2 separate regions of the Homo sapiens genome follow, and region 2 is linked to region 1. The links are contacts of gene promoters, found by promoter capture Hi-C in blood cells and fetal thymus (Javierre and others, 2016). All regions are on one chromosome and are shown on one strand. Each heading gives the region's core, a stretch centred on a gene start or on the middle of the fragment in contact. The rest is flanking DNA. Distances are from core to core; before and after follow the strand shown. Region 1 holds the start of PTGDS (prostaglandin D2 synthase). Region 2 overlaps LCN8 (lipocalin 8).

Region 1 (4,884 bases), core at 891-3,390:
GGAGTGAGGAAACCCCTGGGTCCTGGGGAGGAGAATTGGGAGGAGGCATATGGAGGGGCCTTGGGGGGCTGCTTATGTGGGGAAAACTCCAGAGGGCAGGGAAGGGGCCTGACAAGACAATGGTGGGCTCCAGAGAGGATCCAACCCCCTGGAGGAAGGGTCTCTCTGTCCCTAACACTTGTGCATGGGTAGTCACGCCCAGGCCTGGCCTTTGCCTCTGACGCTGGTGGGGCAGCCATCACCTCCCACCCCATGGATCTCCGCGGCAGGGGGCTGGCCCAGAGTCGTCCCGGCAAGTGTCGCCCCCAGGCTGGGCCCAGGGGGCCGGTGGAGGCCCCACTCACGGGGACTCCGGTAGCTGTAGGAGCCGAGGGACCCCGCGGGCTGCAGCAGCATGGTTCGGGTCTCACACTGGTTTTTCCTGTAGGTGGGTGACCTCAGGGTCAGGGGTTAGGCCCGAGGGTGTCCCTGGACCTCTCCGTCCCAGAAACCCACCTGCCCGCTGTCCCACCTGAGGAAGGTGGAGGTCAGGTTGAGGCCACCATCCGTGGCAGGGGCCACCACAGACTTGCACATGGACAACGCCGCCTTCTTCTCCCGGAGCCAGCTCGAGTTGGAGGCGAGGCCCGCGCTGAACCAGCGCCCCAGGAACTGCGGCGAGCGACCCCCACCCGCGTCGGCCAGGACCCTCCGGACCCACCTGCGCCTACCTGCGGGGGCGCCTCTGCCGTCTACTCCTCCGGTCTCCAACCCGGCCCCGCCCCCACGCCCAATCCCCCGAGCAGCCACGCCCCTCACGCCCCGCCCCAGGAACTGACCCCCGCCCCTCAATCCCCGCCCCAGGAGATGACCCCGCCCCTCACATCTCCGCCCCAGGAGCTGACCACGCCCCTCACATCCCCGCCCCAGGAGATGACCCCGCCCCTCACATCCCCGCCCCAGGAGCTGACCACGCCCCTCACGACCCCGCCCCAAGAGCTGGCCCCGCCCTTCATGTCCACAACCAGGGAACTGACCGCGCCCCTCACGCCCCATGCCCCCCTAGGAGCTGACCCCGCCCCTCACGTCCCCGCCCCAGGAGCTGACCACGCCCATCAGGCCCCCGCCCCGCCCCGGGAGGTGGCCCCGCCCCTCACGCCCCGCCCCAGGAGATGACCACGCCCCACTTCCCCCTCCCCCGGAGATGGCCCCGCCCCTCACGCCTCAGCCCCAGAAGCTGGCCACGCCCCTGACACCCAGCACCCCCGTCTGGCCACGCCCCTCCCGAGGACAGTCCCTCACCCTCGCACGCCGCCCACCAGCCAGCTTCGGCCCCTCCGCCCCCGGTCCCGATTCTGTGCCCTGGCTGAGCGCCTGGCCCATACAGCGGGCGGCAGAGGACGTCGCATTCCTGGCGGGGATCGGGGCGGGTCTTCGGCTCAGCTCTGCGGACCGCTGGGGTTCTCCTCGACGCCAGGGAGGGGCGCGCGGCGCGGGGACCCGCGCTCCGGCGCTTCCCCGAGCAGCTCCCGGGCGAGAGCGCGCGTCGCCGGCTGTCTGTGCGGTGCGCGTCCCTCCCAACCCCCACCGCGCACGGAGTGTTTGTCGCCATCCCTGTGCCCCACCCGCCCGTGTCCTGGCACCCAGGTGTGGAACGTGCGCTCGTGTGTCCTCTGGGGGTCGCGTGCCCACAGGGGTGGACGTGTCTGGCTGGCGTGGGCGCGTGTGTGGCCCGGTGTCTGCGTGGCCCATCAGGGGAGACGGGACGCGGTGCCCAGGGAGGGCTTCTCGCGGGCAGCCTCCTCGGGCGGCTACCCAGCCTCCTTCCTGCGCGCCCGCTCAGTCCCTGGCCGGCACTGCCCGGCACTGCGGGACTTCGCTCACTCCTCCCAGGGGGAAGACCCAGCCGGAAAGTGCCCTTCCCCTGACAGGGTCCTGTAGCCCTTGGGGATGACGCAGGAAAGCCCCTCACCTTGTCCTGCTGGAAGTTGGGCTGCACGGAGACCTGGGCCTCCGGTGCTGCCTGCAGGTCGCCCAGCACCCCCAGCAGGGCCAGTCCCATCCACAGTGTGTGATGAGTAGCCATTCTCCTGCAGCAGAGCGGGTGTCCGGGGCCTGGTGCCAGTGGTGTGGGAGAGCGAGGGAGGTGTGCAGGAGGAGCGGAGGGCACTGAGGAGACCCCTATTTATGGGCCAGGCTTGGCCTCCACCCAGGGCCCGGGGACAGCCCACTGAACACTCGTGATGCTGGGGGATGGGGTGGCCAGGCACAGCTGCAGCCTCGTCCCCCACAGGGCGCTTATGCAAGAGGCCTGGGCCTGCTGCCCCAGCTGAGGCAGCGTGGGGGTGAGGCAGAGGCCCCTGCCCACTGGTCCCAGAGACAGAGCTGGCAGGGACCTTGCCCACCCTCCTCCTGCTGGCAGGGCCCACCAACCCAGCGGCCCTGATAGGGCAGGGGCTGTGTTCCTCAGCCATGCCCGCCTCCGAGGCCTCTGGTGACTTCCCACTGGGGGCCAGGACCCACATCTCACAGCCCCTACCATCATTCCCTTTCCGAGCCCTGCCACCCCAGAAGGGGACACAAGCCCCACTTCCACCCTGAGAGTTTGGTCCTGAAACGCCCAGCAAGTGAAGTGTTGATGAGAAGCTCAGGCCAAGGTAGAGAAACTTGATCTGGCCCGCAGGGTCCCGAGGGCCAGGTTTGCTGGGCATGGCTTCCCCCATGGCCAGCTGTTGGGGCTCTGATAGTGACCCCTGGGTGCCCATTTCAGCCTGGGGCACCTTTGGGCTTGAGCACAGGCCCTATCCCTTGCCAGAGGCCCCAACTTCCCCCAGCAATCCCCCCACCCCAAGTCTGCCCCCCGCCGAGTCTGGGCCTCCCCACCCCGAGTCTGGTCCAGACTCGGGAGCACCCCGTGGGGCTGTCCTGTTACCCCAGCGCTGCACCCAGCTCCTTGGGCCCCTCCAGCTCGTTGGCCCTGGCTGGGGCCCTGTCACAGGCCGTCACAGGCAGGCACATGTGGTGGGCCCTCTCTGGATTCTGTTGGGACTGAGCTTCCCTGGCAGGCGTGGTGGGTGAGCGCTGCCGCTGGTCTGAAGGTGAGCCCGGGTGGGGAGCTGGGAAATGTACATGAGAGCAGGAGTGAGTCGGATGGGGTGGGGTGGTGAGCTTCTACGGGGCTGCTGGCGACCACTGGGGGCCGGAGCCCGTCTTCTTCCTGGATTCTGTGGCCCATCCCTTGCTGGGGGCGCACGAGCCCTGGGAGTGGGCTGGTGTGGACTGCTTCCTTGTTCCCCTTCCCCAGTGCCCGGGGGTCAAGGAGCCCAGACTGGGGGAGGCGCATGCCTATGTAGCAGCAGGGGCTAGTGGGCAGCACTGGTGTCAGGGCTGGTGGGGGTGGCCGGGTAGCATCCCAGGCAGAGGCCAAGGTGAGGGAGTGAGTCCCAGGGAGCCGGGAGGCACCTGAGAGGCAGGGAGAAGGAGGGCAGCGGTGCAGGGGGGCCAAGGCAGTCCTGAGAACCCACTCCTCCACCTGGACCTCCTATCAACCCCTGCCTGAAGCAGCAGCGTGCTGCTAGCTCAGATGCCATCTGTGCCATGGGCTGAGAGGGAGAGTCTGTTGGAACAGATAGGGGTGGGGTGCCTAAACCCGGGACCCCGCGTGGCCCGCAAGCCTGGCTCAGCTACAGAGCTGGGGGCTGCCGTCAGGACAGGGGAGGGGCAGGAAGAGAGTTGCGGCTGGGATATCACCACAAGACTGGCCTCCTGCCCGCTGCCAGCTGAGTCCTGGCTGTCATTCCACTCTGGTGGGGCTGGTGGCTCGCTGACTGGCCTGGCTGGAGGTCCCAACCCAGGCTAGGCTGGTCCAGGACAAGAGCGCCTCCCGGTGGTGAGCAAGCTCTGGGGTGTGGTGGCGGGTGGCCCGGGGCAGGGAGACCCAGGACACGTGGCTCTGGGTCTGAATGGCTTCCGTCTGGGCAGGCCTGGGTCACCTGCCAGGGAGGGACTCTGAAGTCTGATGGGGCCGGGTCCTCCCATAGCCAGAGGGGTTCCCAGGGATCTCGGGTGTCCAGCCCTCAAACCCAGTGCCTGGAACAGGGACCAAGCCCCTCCTCTTCCCCATTTTCTAGTGGGCTGCAGAAAGCCCAGCAGGTCCCATGTCCCTTCTCCTCCCTGACCAGTCGTTACCGAGACCATATGGTCGTTGGCGCCTGGAGAGCTGGAAGAGCTAACAGGATCATGCTTCGGTTCAGGACGGACTCCTCAGTCCCTGTGGTCAAGATGGCCAGCAGGTGGTCAGAGACACTCCCCAGACACGGCTGAGTGAGGACCAGTGAGTGGGAGCTGCCCACGAGCCCTGATTCATGGGTGCACCTGGGCCCACCCGAGGGCTGGAGATTCATCTCTCACCACATCCAGGAAGGGCTGGGCAGTTGCCAGCTCCTGGCACGCCAGATTTCTCCCCTCCTCCCCCGGCTAGGACTGTGCAAGGTGGACAGGGGCAGGAGGGACCTTCGCAGAGCCTCTTGCAGCTTGGGCAGGGACAAGGACCACCCTGCACACTCTCTGTGCCCTTCCCTTTGCTCTGAGCTTGGCTGCCAGGCAGGACCTTAGTGGAGCCTGGCGGAGGGCTGGGCAGGAAGAAGGCTGGCCGCCCCACCCTGCTCTCTGGGAACCAGTCTCTTTGAGTCACAAAATGCAAAGACTTGGCCTCCACCCTAAGAGGTCACCAAGGCCATCCCCCTGCCTGCGGCCCAGGCAGGTCATGGACAAGCCTGGTGGCCTGGGCCTAAGCTCCCAGAACTGACCCCAACCTTTTCCTGGAGGGAAGCTGTCTCCACCCTGGGGCCCCGGCCAGCATCCTCCGGGGGCAGTGATGACCCTGTCCAGCATCCCCACCAATGG
Region 2 (4,884 bases), core at 893-3,392, 220 kb after region 1:
GGGTTTTTAAAAGTCTCAGCGGAAGTCCCGGCTCTGGGCGGGTTGCTGAGGGCAGGAGGCCCATCCTCTGGCGTGGTTGGCAGGCTGGCGAGCTGCGCTACCCGAGCCACCTGTTCTCTGGCGTTTCTCACTCCGCCGCGCCCTGCGGGCTTTCTTTTCCAGGCCTCTGCTCCTGGGTCCTGCCTCCGAGGTCAGGCAGGGCCTGTGGTTCCTCCCGACATGTCGCAGAAGCCCTAGGGACTGTTCCGCAGCTCTAGATGGCCCAGTGGGGAGGGGCTGCCCTGTGGGCATTGCTGTCTGATGGCCTGAAGGCACCGCTTGGAGGGACACATGCCTGGGGACAGTGGGCTCACAGATGTCTTGCTGCTTTGCCACCGAGCCTCACAGCCATCTGCTGACCTCTCAGAGCCCAGCAGGCCCCTGCCCGGGGGTTCGTGGAATGCCCCTGGGGGTCTCAGACCCACTGCTCAGCTCTTGGCCAGGCTCCGTATCTCTCTAGATTGGAGGATTCTGGAGGGAAGTCGGTGTGGCCTCCGATCAAAGCCTGGTGCTGACGGCCCCGAAGCGGGTGGAGGGCTTGTTCCTCACCTTGAGCGGGAGTAACCTGACCGTGAAGGTTGCATATAACAGGTAAGAGGCCTGGGGGCTGCTGGAGAGGAAGAGGCATGCATGGCCGGGGACTGGGCGTGGGTTGCTGCACCCGCTGCAGCGTGGGGTCTGGGCTGAGTGCCGTCCCGCTGGTGGGCCAGCACTCCCGGTGCCCGTCTGCCTGAGCCCTCGACCCCCAGGCTCCTGGATCTGCATTTTATCCCAAATATAAGCATAGTGTTTTAATGAAGCCCCGTGAACTTAGAAGGAAGGAAAAGGGGTGTGGGACAGGTGACTGGCTGGAGGGAACAGAATCCCCAGGGGAAGGCCCCACCTGGCACATTCCCCGCCTCATCCTGCTCCAGGCCTGGGATACTCCACAGTGCTGCCTGTGCCCTTCCTAAAGACACAGCCCCACTCCGGGAAGGAGCCCAGCAGGCGGGACACAGGCTAGCATTTTACCGATGGGCACTTTGCTGCCTTTCAGCTCAGGAAGCTGTGAGATAGAGAAGATCGTGGGCTCAGAAATAGACAGTACGGGAAAATTCGCTTTTCCTGGTAAGTGCAGTTGCCCTGTGATGGCAGGTGGAACCCGGCTGTGCACACAGCTAGGCCTTATTGTTCCCCATGCTGTTCCCTGCACTGTTCCCCATGCTGTTCCCTGCACTGTTCTCTGTGCTGTTCCCTGCACTGTTCCCCATGCTGTTCCCTGAACTATTCCCTGTGCTGTTCCCCATGTTGTTCCCTGCACTGCTCCCTGCACTGTTCCACATGCTGTTTCCTGCACTATTCCCCATGCTGTTCCCTGCACTTTTCTCTGCGCCATTCCCCATGCGTTCCCTGCACTGTTCCCTGCACTGTTCCCCATGCTGTTCCCTGCGCTGTTCCCCATGCTGTTCCCTGCACTGTTCCTCATGCTGTTCCCTGCGCTGTTCCACATGCTGTTCCCTGCGCTGTTCCCCATGCTGTTCCCTGCACTGTTCCCCATGCTGTTCCCTGCAATGCTCCCTGCACTGTTCCCCGCACTGCTCCCTGCACTGTTCCCCATGCTGTTTCCTGCACTATTCCCCATGCTGTTCCCTGCACTTTTCTCTGTGCCGTTCCCCATGCATTCCCTGCACTGTTCCCTGCACTGTTCCCCATGCTGTTCCCTGCAATGCTCCCTGCACTGTTCCCCGCACTGCTCCCTGCACTATTCCCCATGCTGTTCCCTGCACTTTTCTCTGTGCCGTTCCCCATGCATTCCCTGCACTGTTCCCTGCACTGTTCCCCATGCTGTTCCCTGCACTGTTCCCCATGCTGTTTCCTGCACCGTTCCCCATGCTGTTCCCTGCAGGGTTCCCTGCACTGTTCCCCATGCTGTTCCCTGCACATTTCATGCCCCAGACCTTCCCATTCTCCCACCAACACACTGGATCATCCTTCAAAAGCTTCTGTAGTGTCTCCAACCACTCAAGTGCTGGGACTGGGTGGGGGCAGGATGGAGTTAGACCCTGCAGACCCTGGCCTTCGAGGTCCGTCCCCCTCAGACGTCTCCCCCAACGCCATGGCCGGCTCTTGAAGGCCACAGAGAGATCCACGTGCTGGACACCGACTACGAGGGCTACGCCATCCTGCGGGTGTCCCTGATGTGGCGGGGCAGGAACTTTCGCGTCCTCAAGTACTTTAGTAAGCTTGGCCCTGGGGGGCTCTGCCCAGCTGCTGCTCTCCCAGGGACTGCCCGCCCAGCCCCCCTGTGCCCCACAGCTCGGAGCCTTGAGGACAAGGACCGGCTGGGGTTCTGGAAGTTTCGGGAGCTGACAGCAGACACTGGTCTCTACCTGGCGGCCCGGCCTGGTGAGCCCAGGGGCCTTGGGGTGGAGGCTGGGCTGGGCCCTGTGGGCTGACTCTGCAGCTCCTCATGCTGGCCTATCCTGCAGGGCGGTGTGCCGAGCTCCTGAAGGAGGTGAGCCTGACCCCCGACCCTGGCCTGTGCTGAAGTTCCCGGGCCCCTGGCCCAGTCCCTGGCCCTGTCAGGAGCCCCCGTGGCTCCGCCTCCCGGCCCTGGGCTGGGCCTTCTCACCCCTTCCTGTGAACAGGACACCAAACACCACTGGTGGGCAGCTCCAGAGATGAGTCTGTCTCCTGGTTTGGAAAGAGCTGGAACCTCCAGGGTGGTGACCCTAGGCTGCCAGGCAGGGACCCTGGGAGGCTGGGGTCACGGGGTGCAGAGCTGGGTGGGGCAGGGGAGCAGAAATGGCGCCTTTTCTTCGGTGTTCTGTGCAGGACTGCCGGCTGCTTCTGCCCCCGAAGGTCCCGTCGGCGGCGGGGCACAGATCCTGCGGGCGCTGCCTCAGGGCTCCCATGTTGGGCACTGCGAGAACCCAGTGTCTCCCTCACCTCGCTTTGTCTTGGCCCTAGAGGCTGGGCCTGTTACCCCATTTTGCAGATTGAGAAGGCGCTCAGGGAGCTGGGTGCTTTGCGCAAAACCAGGCAGCGAGGACAGAAGTCCCGCCGTGTGGCCCTCATCGAAGCCCCGTGGGGCCTCCAGAGACCACACGGGCCTGAGCCCCTGCACTTCTGTGTCGCAGGAGCTGATTTAATGGAGTTCCTGCCTCAGACCACAAGGTTCGGAGCGCCCGCCCACCCCTGCCCCTCCTGGGCACCCTGCCCACCAGGTCACCTGCACCTGCTCTGAATAAACTGTGAAGTCAAGCCACTGCCTGGTGTGTCCTTCCGGAGGGCCGATGGGTGACAGGTGTGGGGGGACTCACCCGCCCCAGGTCTGGCAACAGGAGGTGTGTTTTCCGTGGTTACTGGACAAACAGTGCAGCTCACGTGCAAGGCAGCAACCCCTGCCCTCCCGCCCTGCTAGGGTCGTGGTCAGGCTGCCCCAGGGTATAGACCAGAGACAGAAACAGGGCTCCTGGTGGAGTCTCAGCAGGTCTGTCAAACGCATGGAGGCCACACCCCTCCTGCCTGCATCCTCCATGGCTCCCCACTGCCCAGGGCTCCAGGCTCACGGCCCGTGCTGAAGGCCCTACCCGATGGGCCCCGCTTCCAGCCTCCCTGGACCCCCAGCTGCCCAGCCCTGCTCAGTGTCCGCTTCCACAGTGGGCTGTCACCCCGTGGCCTCGGCTGCCACCAGCCGACTGCATCACTTTCTCCTCCCGCCTGGCCTGGGACACGGGAAGGGCAAGGAAAGTGACAGTGTCAGCCCGGAGGTTCTGCGCCCAGGCCCCTGGGGAATCAGCCGGTCCCCACATATGCAGGTGAGACAACCCAGGCTTATGAGGGTGGCTGCCTCGTCGGGGCGGCGGAAAATGATACCTGAGGTCGAGTGGTGCCGGGAGCTCTGGGGGAACAGCCCGAGTAGGGGGACCTCGCCAGCCCCCAGCACGGCCGGGACACTGGAAAGGCCCTGCTAGGAACAAGGGCTGCACCCTAGATGCGCCTCAAATCCAGAACTGTGCCCCCGAGACCCACAGGAGGGACATGTAGAGGCTGCATTCTGACAAGTTAGGGGCTCCTGGGAAACAGCCGTGACTTTGCGCAGCTGTGCCTGGCCGAAGCCCACGGGTTCAAGGAGCTTCGCCTGGACTTGGATTTCCTGCTGGAGGGGCTGTCACTCTCGCTGTCAGCTCAGGCTCCCGTGACAAAATACCCCAGACTGGGCACCTTAAACAACAGAACTGTATTTCCTCACCGTTCTGGAGGGTGGAAGTCCAAGATTAAGGTGCCGGAAAGTGCAGTTTCTGGTGAGGGCTTCCTGCCCATTCGCAGAAGGCAGCCCCTCGCTGTGTCCTCACCTGGCAGGGAGCGCTCTCTGGGTGCCTCTTTTTCTCCTAATAAGGACATCAGCCTGTTAAATTAGGGCCACTCCCTTTGACCTCACTTAATCTCGATTGTCTCCTAAGAGTCCCATCTCCTGAAACAGTGACCATGGGATCTGGGGCTTCAACGCAGGAATTTTGGGAGGGCAGAATTCATCCCAGAACAAAAGTCAGTGCTGTTTAGAGGGTGACAGTAGATGCAGGGCTGCCGTCATCAACAACGTCCTGCCCAAAAGTCACTGGACGTCCAAAGACACAGAAAAGTATGACCTATGTTAAAAAAAAAAAGAAAAAAAAAGTTACTAAAAACTGACACCGAGAAGACCCAAAGTTGTATTCAGAAGATAAAGGTCTAAAACAGCCATTATAAGTAGTTAAAAGAAAAGCAAGATATACTCTAAGGAAAGAAATAGTGACACAATAGCATTAAAGGACTAACTAATTGATAAAGAATTAAGGAGTGAATGTAGGAGATCAGATCAGG

The links. The method cuts DNA at HindIII sites, captures the fragments that hold promoters and counts their contacts. A CHiCAGO score of 5 or more calls a contact.
Region 2: a contact is called between a fragment that was not itself captured here and the fragment with the promoter of PTGDS in region 1, in 3 of 17 cell types (M1 macrophages, activated CD4 T cells and endothelial precursors). The highest score is 6.4, in M1 macrophages.

Annotation. Positions count from the first base shown.
Region 1 is chr9:136,974,760-136,979,643 of GRCh38, reverse strand. It overlaps PTGDS (prostaglandin D2 synthase), which reads right to left and starts at 2,140. Exons shown (of 7, transcript NM_000954.6): 1 at 1,952-2,140; 2 at 512-651; 3 at 345-421. The coding sequence starts at 2,065. It also overlaps LOC124902312. RefSeq lists an enhancer at 101-1,080. The HindIII fragment of the contact is 17,671 bases long and covers 1-4,884 here.
Region 2 is chr9:136,752,784-136,757,667 of GRCh38, reverse strand. LCN8 (lipocalin 8) reads left to right here. Exons shown (of 7, transcript NM_178469.4): 2 at 500-630; 3 at 1,076-1,146; 4 at 2,152-2,256; 5 at 2,335-2,424; 6 at 2,508-2,533; 7 at 3,159-3,282. The coding sequence ends at 3,170. Among named protein-coding and RNA genes, the nearest start is that of LCN8, 3.0 kb to the left of the region's middle. The HindIII fragment of the contact is 243 bases long and covers 2,021-2,263 here.